3 separate regions of the Homo sapiens genome follow, and regions 1 and 2 are each linked to region 3. The links are contacts of gene promoters, found by promoter capture Hi-C in blood cells and fetal thymus (Javierre and others, 2016). All regions are on one chromosome and are shown on one strand. Each heading gives the region's core, a stretch centred on a gene start or on the middle of the fragment in contact. The rest is flanking DNA. Distances are from core to core; before and after follow the strand shown. Region 1 overlaps OR4D2 (olfactory receptor family 4 subfamily D member 2). Region 2 overlaps MRPS23 (mitochondrial ribosomal protein S23). Region 3 holds the start of SRSF1 (serine and arginine rich splicing factor 1).

Evidence for each region. The method cuts DNA at HindIII sites, captures the fragments that hold promoters and counts their contacts. A CHiCAGO score of 5 or more calls a contact.
Region 1: a fragment that was not itself captured here is called in contact with the fragment with the promoter of SRSF1 in region 3 in 2 of 17 cell types (naive CD4 T cells and total CD8 T cells); the score reaches 5.1 in naive CD4 T cells.
Region 2: a fragment that was not itself captured here is called in contact with the fragment with the promoter of SRSF1 in region 3 in 2 of 17 cell types (neutrophils and monocytes); the score reaches 9.9 in neutrophils.

What each region holds. Positions count from the first base shown.
Region 1 is chr17:58,170,406-58,174,536 of GRCh38, forward strand. OR4D2 (olfactory receptor family 4 subfamily D member 2) reads left to right here. Exons shown (of 2, transcript NM_001004707.4): 2 at 1-711. The coding sequence ends at 174. Among named protein-coding and RNA genes, the nearest start is that of OR4D2, 5.5 kb to the left of the region's middle. The HindIII fragment of the contact is 3,346 bases long and covers 839-4,131 here.
Region 2 is chr17:57,831,577-57,835,658 of GRCh38, forward strand. MRPS23 (mitochondrial ribosomal protein S23) reads right to left here. Exons shown (of 5, transcript NM_016070.4): 5 at 3,205-4,082. Among named protein-coding and RNA genes, the nearest start is that of MRPS23, 16 kb to the right of the region's middle. RefSeq lists enhancers at 1,176-1,687, 1,688-2,198, 2,367-2,867. The HindIII fragment of the contact is 6,404 bases long and covers 1-4,082 here.
Region 3 is chr17:58,005,501-58,009,332 of GRCh38, forward strand. It overlaps SRSF1 (serine and arginine rich splicing factor 1), which reads right to left and starts at 1,746. Exons shown (of 4, transcript NM_006924.5): 1 at 1,444-1,746; 2 at 843-1,027; 3 at 301-473; 4 at 1-100. The coding sequence starts at 1,637. RefSeq lists enhancers at 1-556, 888-937, 1,208-1,257, 1,381-2,099, 2,048-2,097. The HindIII fragment of the contact is 5,045 bases long and covers 137-3,832 here.

The DNA.
Region 1 (4,131 bases), core at 1,262-3,761, 170 kb after region 3:
TTCGTTCCAAGCATTTACCTCTATGCCCGGCCCTTCACTCCATTCCCTATGGACAAGCTTGTGTCCATCGGCCACACAGTCATGACCCCCATGCTCAACCCCATGATCTATACCCTGAGGAACCAGGACATGCAGGCAGCAGTGAGAAGATTAGGGAGACACCGGCTGGTTTGAGAGTGACAATGGTAGGTTTCTTCTCTTTGGCTTTGTTTTCCCTTTGTGAAGTGGAGAGGGAGCTACTACCTTTGCTCTCTTCATAGTGTGTTGAGGTTCATCATAGCAGGGAATGAATTTTGAAACTAAGCAACTTCGTGTTTTAGGAAAAAAGAAAGTATCCTCTTTGGTGGTTAAGGTTTGTGATAAAGAGTTTTAACACACTCGCAACAATGAGAATTGTTCACATGGCCCCTGAAAACCACACCTTCCTTTTCACCTTCTTGGTGGACAGTTTCCTGTTGACAGCATTTCCCCTGTGCGAACATTTCTATTTTCCGTATTTTGAGCTCTCTTCCCAATATTTCCTTTTGGTGTGAGTCTGGGTTGTTGGGAACAGCACAGAATTTGGAGTCTTAAGCTCTAAATTAGAGGCCCTGACCCATCATTGACCAAACTGATGACTTCGAGTAAGCCACCCAGCTTTTCTTGGCCTCATGATTTCTCCCTCACCAATTTGCTTAAATTAGTATGTGCCCCTAAAATATTCTATGTTTGTTATGAGATTCAAATAAAAAAATTTTGTGATAAAACAACAAGTAAATCATATAACTATATGTTATCTTCCAAGCTTTTAAAAATGATTGTATTTTATTTTCAAATATGAAATTATTATGAGTATTCAAGCTTTTTCTCTCTATATTTACATTTTAATATAATATACAAATTTTGAATAAAAGATCATGGGCAATGCATGCACATTATGAAACTTATGTCATTATGTATAAATGCTCATGTATACACTACTCGATTCAAGAACCAGAAGTTACCAATAACTTGCCTTCACCTGTATTGTCCTCTCCATTGTGTTCACCTTGATTCCTATCCAGAAGAAATCACTCTGTTGAATTTCATGTTTATCACTTCATTGCTTGTATAAAATAGTTTCATCACTTTTTTTACATAAACAGTATATTGTTTTGCTACTTTGGAGTTTTATAAAGATATTGTACTGTACATAATATTCTGGGATTTGCTTTTTTCACTCCATGTTATGTTTCTAACATAACATGTTGATGTTTGGCTCTAATTCATTCATTTGCTCTGCTGTAGAATATTCCACTGTGAAAATAAGTTTATTTGGGTTGTTTCCAGGTTTTGGCTATTGGAGAGTGCTTTTTTTGAGACGAAGTTTCACTCTGCTGCCGAGGCCGGAGTTCACTCATCACCACACCCAGCTAAGTTTTGCATTTTCAGTAGAGATGGGGTTTCTCCATGTTGGAGTTGTGACCATTATTGCCTAAACTATTTTTACTGCGCCTTTCTCTCCTCTTCTTCCAGGATTCTCATTATGTGTGTGTCTTGGTATCCTTGATGGTGTCTCACAGGCTTCTGAGCCTATGTTCATTTTCGTTTATTCTTCTTTTTGCTCCTTAGACTGGATGATTTCAATTGACCTATAATATCTCTAGACCTCTGATTCCGAAATGCCATCATAGAGGAAAATTGGATTCACTCCCCGACTTCCACAGAACCAAAAACAAATATATAGCACTGAGATCTACACCAGAAACAACCCAGAGCTCAAGTATAAGAGTGAGACAGTTCTTGGGGCCACAGAGGGATGAAAAAAGTCCAAGCAGCTGATAGGAGAATCAGACTTCCACATCTGGGACACCCCTCATCCCCATTCTGTCCAGCACCAAGTGCCAAAAAATCTCCTCCCAACTACAGTTTCTACACTGGAAAAACTGAAATTGAGGTGGCCCACCAGCTTCCTTACCTTCTTGGGGTCCCTGGCAGGAGAACTGTTCTTGCCTTAATCCACAGATAGCATCATGACTGCCTGAAAGAAGAAATGTCCCCGAAGAAAGGCAGAGAAATTCTGCTCTGTAACTCAGCCAAAGGAGACACCAACTCAGAGTTGCTGTCCAGCAGCACCATGCTGTAGGAGGCATGTTCCCCAGGTCCCCTGGGCACAAACCCCTAGCCAGACTTCCCACACTGCCAGGATAATCTCTTTGGGATCTCCTTGATTTGAGACAGGAAGTGCTTCAACCATTTACTAGTCCTGAGGTGAACCTGGGCTTAAGGCACCACCTAGAGTCGAATAGAGGCAGTGACCTAGCAGTGAAGATTCAATAAGCAAATGTATTCAATAAAAACCAAAACAAGCTGTACAGAGAAAACTGGAAAGATGGATACATACCCACAAGAAACAACAGCAAACAGGGAACTATGACTTCCTCAAAAGGAAAAAGCAAAAATCCAGTCACTGATCCTAACAAGATGGTGATTAGTGAGCTCTCTGACCAAGAATTCAAAATAGGAGTTTCAAGGAAACTCACTGATCTCCAAGAAAACACAGAAAAGCAATTTAGAAATTTAACAAAGAGACTGAAATGATTCCAAAATGTCAAACAGAAATCTTGGAACTCAACTAACCTATCTTCAGATTCATTGATTTTATTTTTATTTTTTAAGACAGTCTCACTCTGTTGCCCAGACTGGAGTGCAATGGTGTGATCTTGGCTCACTGCAACCTCCGCCTTCCAGTTTCAAGCAATTCTCCTGCCTCAGCCTCCTGAGTAGCTGGGGCTACAGGCGCGTGTCACCACACCCAGCTAATTTTTGTATATTTAGTAGAGACAGGGTTTTACCATGTTGGCCAGGCTGGTCTTGAACTCCTGACCTCGTGATCAACCCGCCTCGGCCTCCCAAGGTGCTGGAATTACAGGTGTAAGCCACCAGGCCCAGCTGATTCTTTCTTCTACCTACTCGAAAGCTCCTATTGAAACCGTCCTGTGAACTTTTCATTTCAGTTACTTTTATTGTACTTTTCAGCTCCAGACTATTTCTTATTTTAAATCAATTTCTCTCTCTTTTTTGATATTTTCTATGTAAAACATTCTTCTTCCTTTAATTCTTTACCCATAGTTTACTCTATGTTCAAGAAAGTTGCTTTAAAGTCTTTGTCTAGTTAAGTCAAATGTCTGTTTTTTCTCAGGAAGTTTCTGCTAATTTCTTTTCTTCCCTTGAAAGGGCCATACTCTCTTGTTTGTTTGCATGTCTCATAATATTTTGTGAAAACCGCACATTTTAAATATTATAATGTTGTAGGAGTGGAAATAATTTTCTTCCTGCTCCCTATTATTTGTTGTTTTTTCTTGCTGTGAGTTGCAGTTGTTTGTTTAGTGACTTTTAAAACTTTTTTTTTTGTCAAATATGGCCTCTGAAATCTGTTTCCTTAGTTCATAGTCATCTAATGGCTTTACAGTAACTTTGTTAAATGCCTGTAGACAAATGATATGGCTTGGACCTGTGTCCCATGAAATCTCATGTGGAATTATAATCCCCAGTGTTGGAGGTGATGCCTGGTGGGAGGTGATTAGATCATGGGGATGAATTTCTCACGAATAGTTTAGCACCATCCTTCCCTTGGTACTGACCTTGCAATAGTGTGTGAGTTCTCATGAGATCTGGTCATTTAAAAGTGTGTGGTGCCTCCCTCTTACTCTCTCTTCCTCCTGCTCCAGCCATGTGAAGTGCCTGCTCCCACTTCACCTCCCACCATTATTGTAAGTTTCCTGAGGCCTCCCCAGAAGCCAAACAGATGCCAGCATTATGCTTCCTGTACAGCCTGCACAATCATGAGCCAATTAAACCTCTTTTCTTTATAAATTACGAGTCTTAGTCTCAGATATTTCTTTATAGCAATATGAGAATGAACTAATACAACAAAGAAATGAAAAAGAAAGAAAATATACTCTCCCAGTCTTTCCAGATTGGCTCTGTGTTTGGATACTCCCTCAACACTTAACAAGGATGTTTACAGCTCTGCCTTAGCCTTCACTTTCTGCTTGCATTGGGCCTAAAGATTAGCCAGAACTTATATCTTAGGACTGTCCCAAGTCTGTGTTTTCATCCTGCCCTTATATGCAGAATGTGGCATTCTAGATTTCATAGTATATACAGGAA
Region 2 (4,082 bases), core at 1,070-3,569, 170 kb before region 3:
TATACTTCCAAAAATCTATTAGGTTCCAGATTCTCTCCTGGGGCTGGATGTGGCTCAAAATGGTCAAGTGATTTCTCTAAAGCCATGGCCACAAAGGAGTGCCAGCGTCAGGATTTGAATCCAGTCCTTTTGACTGAGACTTAGAGAGGAAAGAGGTCAGAGCCCTTCCCCTGTAACCCACCTGGGTGGCACCCTTAGCTCTGTGCTCCTCTGGCCTCACATCCCAGGTAATTCAAGGCAGAGGGGCCCACCATACACTGGCAGACCACCAGGGTAAAATAAAGTGGGAGGGTAGGAAGGTCAAGGATAGATCTTTCTGGTCCTCTAGGCCTCATCCTCACCCTGCCCACCATTTCTGCCCTGGCACCCACTGCCTCCCCATGCCCTTCATAGGGAGAAGCTCCAGAAAGAGTTTCAGAAACTCCTAATTGCTGACTAGCCCCAGGTCCCCAAAACAATGGCTCTGATGTTGGAACTATTTTCCCTGGCCGGGCCTCTAGGTAGTGACCCTCTGGCTTTCCTCCATAATCTGGGGCAAAGAGGGTGGAGAAAGAAAGCAGAAAAGTGTGCTGAAAGGAAGGCAGTTGGGGGGAGTGTAGAGGGGCAGCAAGGAGGCAGAAAAGGGCCGGGCATGGTGGCTCATGCCTATAATCCCAGCACTTTGGGAGGCCAAGGCGGGAGAGTCGCTTGAGGCCAGGAATTTGAGACCAGCCTGAGCGACATAGCATAGAGACCCTATCTCTACAAAAAAATTAAAAATAAAAAATTAGCTTGGCATAGTGGCATGCACCTGTAGCCCTAGCTACCTGGGAGGCTGAGGCAGGAGGACCACTTGAGCCCAGGAGGTTGAGACTGAAGTGAGCTATGATTGCACCACTGCACCCCAGCCTGAGTGACAGAGAGAGACTTTGTCCCTATTTTTAAAAAAAGGAAGCAGGAAAGAAGAAACAGAATGAGTGTCATTGAGTGTCATTTAAAATGTTGGTTTCTACACACACGCTTGCCCACAGGCATACACAATCCAAGAAGTTACTAAATAAATGCACATTTTCCAGTGAAACCTACCAGCATGGGATAAGTTCCAAAAGCGGATAGTTCCCAAGATGTTCTCTAGTTTCCTCCTTTGTTGTTGTTGTTGTAGTTGTTTTTTAATTTGATTCATTTACTTGGTGCTAGAAGTTTGGAAGGAGATAAAGGACAGAGTAACTACTGGGGGTGGGGGATAGAGAAAGCTGTGTTTAGACGAGTGGCTGGTGAAAGAGGACACAATACCGTTTCTTCTCAATGTTAATCTAGCGCATGTTAATTCCTCCCCACCCAGTGGGAATCGACAGTGGCTGAAAGCCTTCTAGGCACTGACAGCAAAGACGGAGTACTCGCCAAGAACTTTGTTCACGTTCTCATTCAGTCCTCACAGCAACTTAGTGAGGTAGACGTTGTTACCCTTGTTTTACAGATAAGGAAATTGAGGTTCAGACGGTTCACTAACTCCCCTAATGTCACCAGACAAAGCAACAGATCAGGGTTTCAAACCCAGGTCTGTTCTCCAAGGCCTGGGTTTTTTCCGCTGCTCTGCCTCCCTGCCTGCACTGTTCTCTCTCCCGCTGTCCTCCACAGCAAATTCGCAGATGTGTCATTGACTGGAGAAGGTTAGGAAACACTGCTCTGGGCAGAGTCTCCAGGGGCTCAGCGCAGTAAGCTCCTTCCTCTCCAGCTCCTATTATGGTGCAAACAGTGCCGCTTCCCCGGCAGGCCTTTGTCATTTGTCCCGTGGCCTGTCCCCTCCCATCTCTACCCCATCCCAGTAGCACCCCAGGACCTCAGCTTCCTAAATTTCAGCCACAACATTATTTTTACAAGGACACTCTTCAACCTTGAAAGGCAAGGTACCCCGAGGCAAGGAAACGAAATGACTGTAGTTGAACAGCATGAGAGTCCAGCGCCATCTAGTGGTGCTGAAACCGACAAGTCCCTGGCGGTGACATTTTCAAATAATCAATATCTCATTATTAACCATAATCACAACCTGATGTTTACTTTTGGAGAAATGTTCAGCAGCAAGGGATGCACATGCACTTTTCTGCATGTTTCAGAGGCCTGCGATCCTAAATGCCACAATGACTATTAAACAGTGTCCTGCCCATGAGCAAACAGGAGAGATTGATTGTATATCTTTTTCATCTAAGCTGCTCACCAAAAACAAAGCTCAGTTGAAGCCAGTGACCTTTCACTAACTGCTGGAAGGAAAATGCTTGATAAATAATAAATAGACCACTACTGGATCTTGCTTAGAACTATCTTTTAATTAAAAGAACTGAGGAGCTAGAAGGTCCGGTGACTGACATTTATTTCAGTTGCAGTCCAGGAAAAGCATTCATTGAGGGTAAAATGATACTTGAAATGTATTTTCGTTGTCAGCTAGTATTCCCCAAAAACCCTGTCTGTAATCTGCATGGATGGAGGGTGGTGGTGGTGGCTGGCAGTAGCAACATTTTGTAGGGAACATAACACTTAACTTCCTGCCTTCTCTGCCTTCCCCTAGCAACCTTTTCTTTTTCGTGCTGCAGCAATAAACACTTGTCTGGTTCAGCATCACCACAGAAACTGCTTCAGTGCCGGGCTCATCCAATCAGAGACCCGCCTGCCACATTGAGCGCTACCCTAGGAGTGACAGGAAAGCCATTTCCCGTCTTTTCCACAGGAGGGCAGGTGCCCTTCCTCTGCCAGCCAAGGTGACCTCGACCAAGTTGCTCACTGAACCTGCTCAGCCATCCCTCATCTCACCCAGCACGGTCAAAGGCTCAGAACGCATGACTAACTTAGCCCGAGTCAGGCTCCCACCTTTTGGCTATTCTAGAATTGAGCTCAGAACATAGAGACCAGGAAGTCTCAGCCTTCCCCATCCCCTCCTCCACTCACCTTTGCTTGCTCCTAGCTCCAGTCTTCTGGCTGAGGCCGTGCCAGCTTGCGTTGACTACCAGCACCACATCATGTTCTCTGCCCTAACTCCCATGTACTCAGGAAAACTGCCAGCCCATTCTGAGTCAGGCTTGGTCACAAATGAAAGCTGAGGATGGATGAGGCCCAACTCCGGGTGCCACGTCTGGATTCCCCGGAGCAGAGGCAGGCACCAGTGCCAGCCTCAGAGAAAATCTTACTGTCCCACTTGAGTGACTTTGTTTAAAAAAAGAAATCTGCTGAAGGTTTTTAAGTGGCACGCCATCATTTATTTACAGAGAAAGGTATCACTTTAACAAAATCAGGAGTCCTTCGGGGGCAGATTATTCTGTAATACCACTTTCATTATCAGAGAACTCTCGATACAAAGTGTTCTACAAAACTACAAGAAGAATCAGGCTAGCCTTTTAAGGACATCATCAAAAATCAGGCCTACCCAATAAAGGCAGAGGCAGAGCTCTATAAAATTTGGTGAATCCAGGACCACTTAAACAAGTCAGACATATAGATGATGGAAGACATGGGACGTGAATTTCTTTTGCTGGCTTTCTCATTCCTCCTATTCTATCACTTAAAGCATTTACCTGCCAGCCCCCAACATCCCAGATCTCTCCCCACTACCCTTGGAGAGCTCATTTCTTCTCCTGGCTCCAAATCTTGCCCCTGTAGACACCTATCCCTTATCTCTGTCTGCCACTTAGATATAGCACCATCACCTTCAACTTAGTAGGTTGAGAATTGAAGCTCTCTCCCAGGAGAGCACCAGTTCCACGTCACCAACTGGGTGTTAGTGATGCTGCTAAGTTTTCTAGTCACTCAGGTTTGTGACCTTGGACTTGCTGCCTCCTTTTTGGTCCCTCTGACATGTCTCCTCTTTCCTCCTTCCCTGCCCACTCCTCCATCCCATTCTTTACATCACTCCTAGGCAAACCTTTCTTTGACCTGACACTGCTTTCACTACATTCTTTCTTTCCCTGCTCAAACTTTCCCATACCCAACTGGCTCCTCCATGTAGTTGTCAAGGCCACCATGATCTTATCTCATCCTACCAGTTCAAATGGGCTTTTCCACTACTGCTCAAAATAGTAATAAAACCACCAGCCACACATTACAAATGAGCTTTG
Region 3 (3,832 bases), core at 496-2,995:
TGCTACGGCTTCTGCTACGACTACGGCTTCGAGATCGAGATCTTCCATAACTTGGACTTCTGGGCCCATCAACTTTAACCCGGATGTAGGCAGTTTCTCCCTATTGGATAGACAGAACTTTCCATTGAAAGATCTAAGCTTTCATCTATCTTCAGACATGCTGAATGAATACAATGTAACTAAAACCAGAAATCTGGCAATTTACTTGGACAACCTTGCCTGAATCCTTACCTTGAAATTCCACTGTTAAGACCACTGTATCCAATTCTGGTCAAAGAAAAGAATACGTGTATAACCTACCTCATGAGATCTAAACTTAGTGTTATCCAGTTTTCGAACTGCATAGGTCATATCTTCTTTCCGTACAAACTCCACGACACCAGTGCCATCTCGGTAAACATCAGCATAACATACATCACCTGCTTCACGCATGTGATCCTTTAAATCCTGCCAACTTCCACTTGGAGGCAGTCCTGAAAAAGTGATTTTTTTTTTCTTAGTACCAATTATCTTAAATTTCACGTTAAGCTGGTAAGGTACATTAGGACAAAGAGTACTTTAAAGTACTTAATAGGTGTACTTAAGTGATACCAGGTAAAGAGAGCTGGTAAGATTCTGGAATCCAGAGTCCAAAATTATTTGTAACGATCTTCGTATCTAGTACCGCAACCTAATTTGGTAAATCACCACAGCAGCAATCCTCGTTTATTAAATTCACCCAAAAACTAAAGCAATTTAAGACCTAGCATGAAAAATTTGCAATTATTAAACCTGTCACGCAAGAGAAAAATTTTAGGTAGTTTTCGTCCCTTCACATCAATCCACACAACCAGTACACTCACCAGAGACAACCACTCTGTTTTCAGACCGCCTGGATGGGGGGCCATAGCGACCTCGGGGAGCTCCGCCACCTCCACCCCCGCCGCCGCCTCGGCCTGTTCCACGGCCGCTTCGAGGAAACTCCACCCGCAGACGGTACCCATCGTAATCATAGCCGTCGCGACCATACACCGCGTCTTCCGCGTCTCTGCGGGATCGCAGAAAGTAAAAGGGATGAGAAACACCAGGAGGAGAAGCTCGCTCAGTTGGGAACCAGCAAACCCCCCGCACATGCGCACCCAACGTGGAAGAGCCCACATGCGCCGCATAATAGGAATGGCCCCTCCCCCACCCAGAAACACGCCAGGCTCCCAACCACTACACCAGCCCTCAGCGCCTCAGTTTCCCGCTCCAGCCTGCGAATGGGCTCCGGGGACGTCCAAGGCGAGGCGCCAGAGAAGCCACATCAACTCAGCTCCTTACTCGACTCCTGCATGGGCGATACAGTCTCGCCCCAACCTCTCTAAGAGCCCCCGCTTCCCCGTTCTCTATGTTAAGGCCTTGGAGCCTTCCCCAACTACTCGGACCTATTTCCTCAAGGCTGCAAGCCCCATGCCGCCTCACCGCGGGTCCTCGAACTCAACGAAGGCGAAGGGCGGTCCCCCGCGGCGATTCTTGAGGTCGATGTCGCGGATAGCGCCGTATTTGTAGAACACGTCCTCAATGTCCTTGGTTCGGATGTCTGGAGGTAAGTTACCCACGTAGATGCGGCAATCGTTGTTCCCTGCGGGGCCACGAATCACACCACCTCCCGACATGGCGGTGACGAAAAGCGCGGACTCGAGAACAGGCCTTCCCACCAAGCCTAGCGCACGGCAGAGCGAGCCCGCAGCGGCACCACGTCTCCCGCGGCCCCTCCAAAATGGCGCCTTTATCAGCTCGGCGCACGGATATGGGGGGGAGACAGAGGAAGAGAAGCGGAAGGAAACAGCGATTCGATCCCAACACGCACGCGCGGGAGCGCAACGGGTGCTGCGAGGGCTACGTTCAGCGCACGCGCACGCACGCGCGACGTCACCCTCCCCACGAAGGGGGTAAAAAAGTCCCCCGCGTTCCCAGCTTGGGGTGGTTTGCGAACAGAGTGACCAGCCGTTTGGTAAAAGTTAAATAACGAACTTTCGTTAAAGGAGCTAGTCATCCAGGTCGGGTCTTGAAGGATGGTCGATTTCTCCAGGAATGAGGATCTTTGAAAGCAACTCGGCGCCTTCAAAGCACTTGGTGAAACCTAGCCTAAAGCGTTGTCCCACCATGCTCTGCGGCGATAACGGCCTTTGGCGGGAAAGAGTCTCGGAGGCGGGGCCAAAGGGGGACGGCCCGGGCGGTTGCTCCGGAAACCCGGGTATCTTCGTAGGGTGCGTCTAATCCAGAGCTGAGTTGCGGGTGATTGAACGGAGAGCTGGGGCGTTGGTTTGTCTTCCCGCCCCTGCTGCGAATAGACCGTGGCTGCTTAGACAGATGTGTCTAATTTAGCGAAACCGATTTAGATTCCTTAATCCTCTTCATTAAGTACCGTTCCGCCTTCTCGTCAGAACTTTGCATAGCTCGGGTCAGCACTCCTAGTGCTAGTCGCAGTGGGTCCGTATCCCGACCGGCAACGTGGTACCCGCCAACCAGAAGGGGTAACACCGTACCGCCTATGGGACCCACACCTTTTTATCTCTTGTTAGTCGCCTGTCCGTGGGACTAGCGCAGAATGCCTGCAGAATGAATCGTTTCTGTTGTTTCCTTTCAAAGAACGAGAAGGAAGAAAGGGTGCGTGTGTGCAGTCCTTTTTTCAAAAGTTTTCCCTAAAAGTTACTGATACACCAGGTTTTGAAAATACCGGTCCTCTCAGGTAATAAAATGGAGCAAAATGGATGTGAGAACCGTAACCACTAGATACCGCGGTTGCTATTCAGGACTGTGATCCTGTTTGCCTGCGGCATTGGGAGATAACATTTTACATTTTTTTTCGACGTCTGAAATCTGGATTTTTATGTGAAATCCTGGGATTTTTAAACGTCGCTAATGAATTAAAATTCAAATCAGGCTGGGCGCGGTGGCTCACGCCAGCACTTTGGGAGGCCGAGGCGGTTGGATCACTTGAGGTCAGGAATTCGAGACCAGCCTGGCCAACATGGTGAAATCCCGTCTCTACTGAAAAAACAAAAAATTAGCCGGGCTTGGTGGCAGGCGCCTGTAATCCACTCTACGCGGGAGGCTGAGGCAGGAGAATCGCTAGAACCCTGGAGGCGGAGGTTGCAGTGAGCTGAGATGGCGCCATTGCACTGCAGCCTGGGCTACAGAGTGAGACTCCTCCAAAAAAAAAAAAAAGGAGGGGGAAACAACAACAAATTAAAATCAAACCCTGCAGTCATAAATTTGCCATAACAGATCTACACACTGAATTTAAGGGATAATTTTCTTCATGTTATTTATTTACAGTAGTCCCTTTCCGCAAGGATGTGAGGCAACTTACAGAGATACCATAAAACATGAAAACTAGATGAGGCTGGGCGTGGTGGCTCACTCCTGTAATCCCAGCACTTTGGGAGGCCGAGGCGGGCGGATCACCTGAGGTCAGGAGTCGGAGACCAACATGTCGAAACCCGTATCTTCTAAAAATACAAAACATTAGCTGGGTATGGTGGCGCGTGCCTGTAATCCCAGCTACTCGGTAGGGTGAGACAGGACAATCTCTTGAACCCTTAGGAGGTGGAGGCTGCAGTGAGCGGAAATCACGCCACTGCACTCCAGCCTGGGTGACAGAACAAGACTCCATCTCACACACACACAAAAAAAATGCTAGAGTAAGAAATCAGAGGAATGGGAAAATGAGGGGTGGATTAAATGAAATACGCATAAATTACTATACAAAATGCCTGCAGTGAAAGCCCGTTGAATTTGTTGAGATAGATTGCAAATTTTACTTTAGTCTTCCCAGAAGTCACGGTAAAGAAGGGTACAGAAGTAT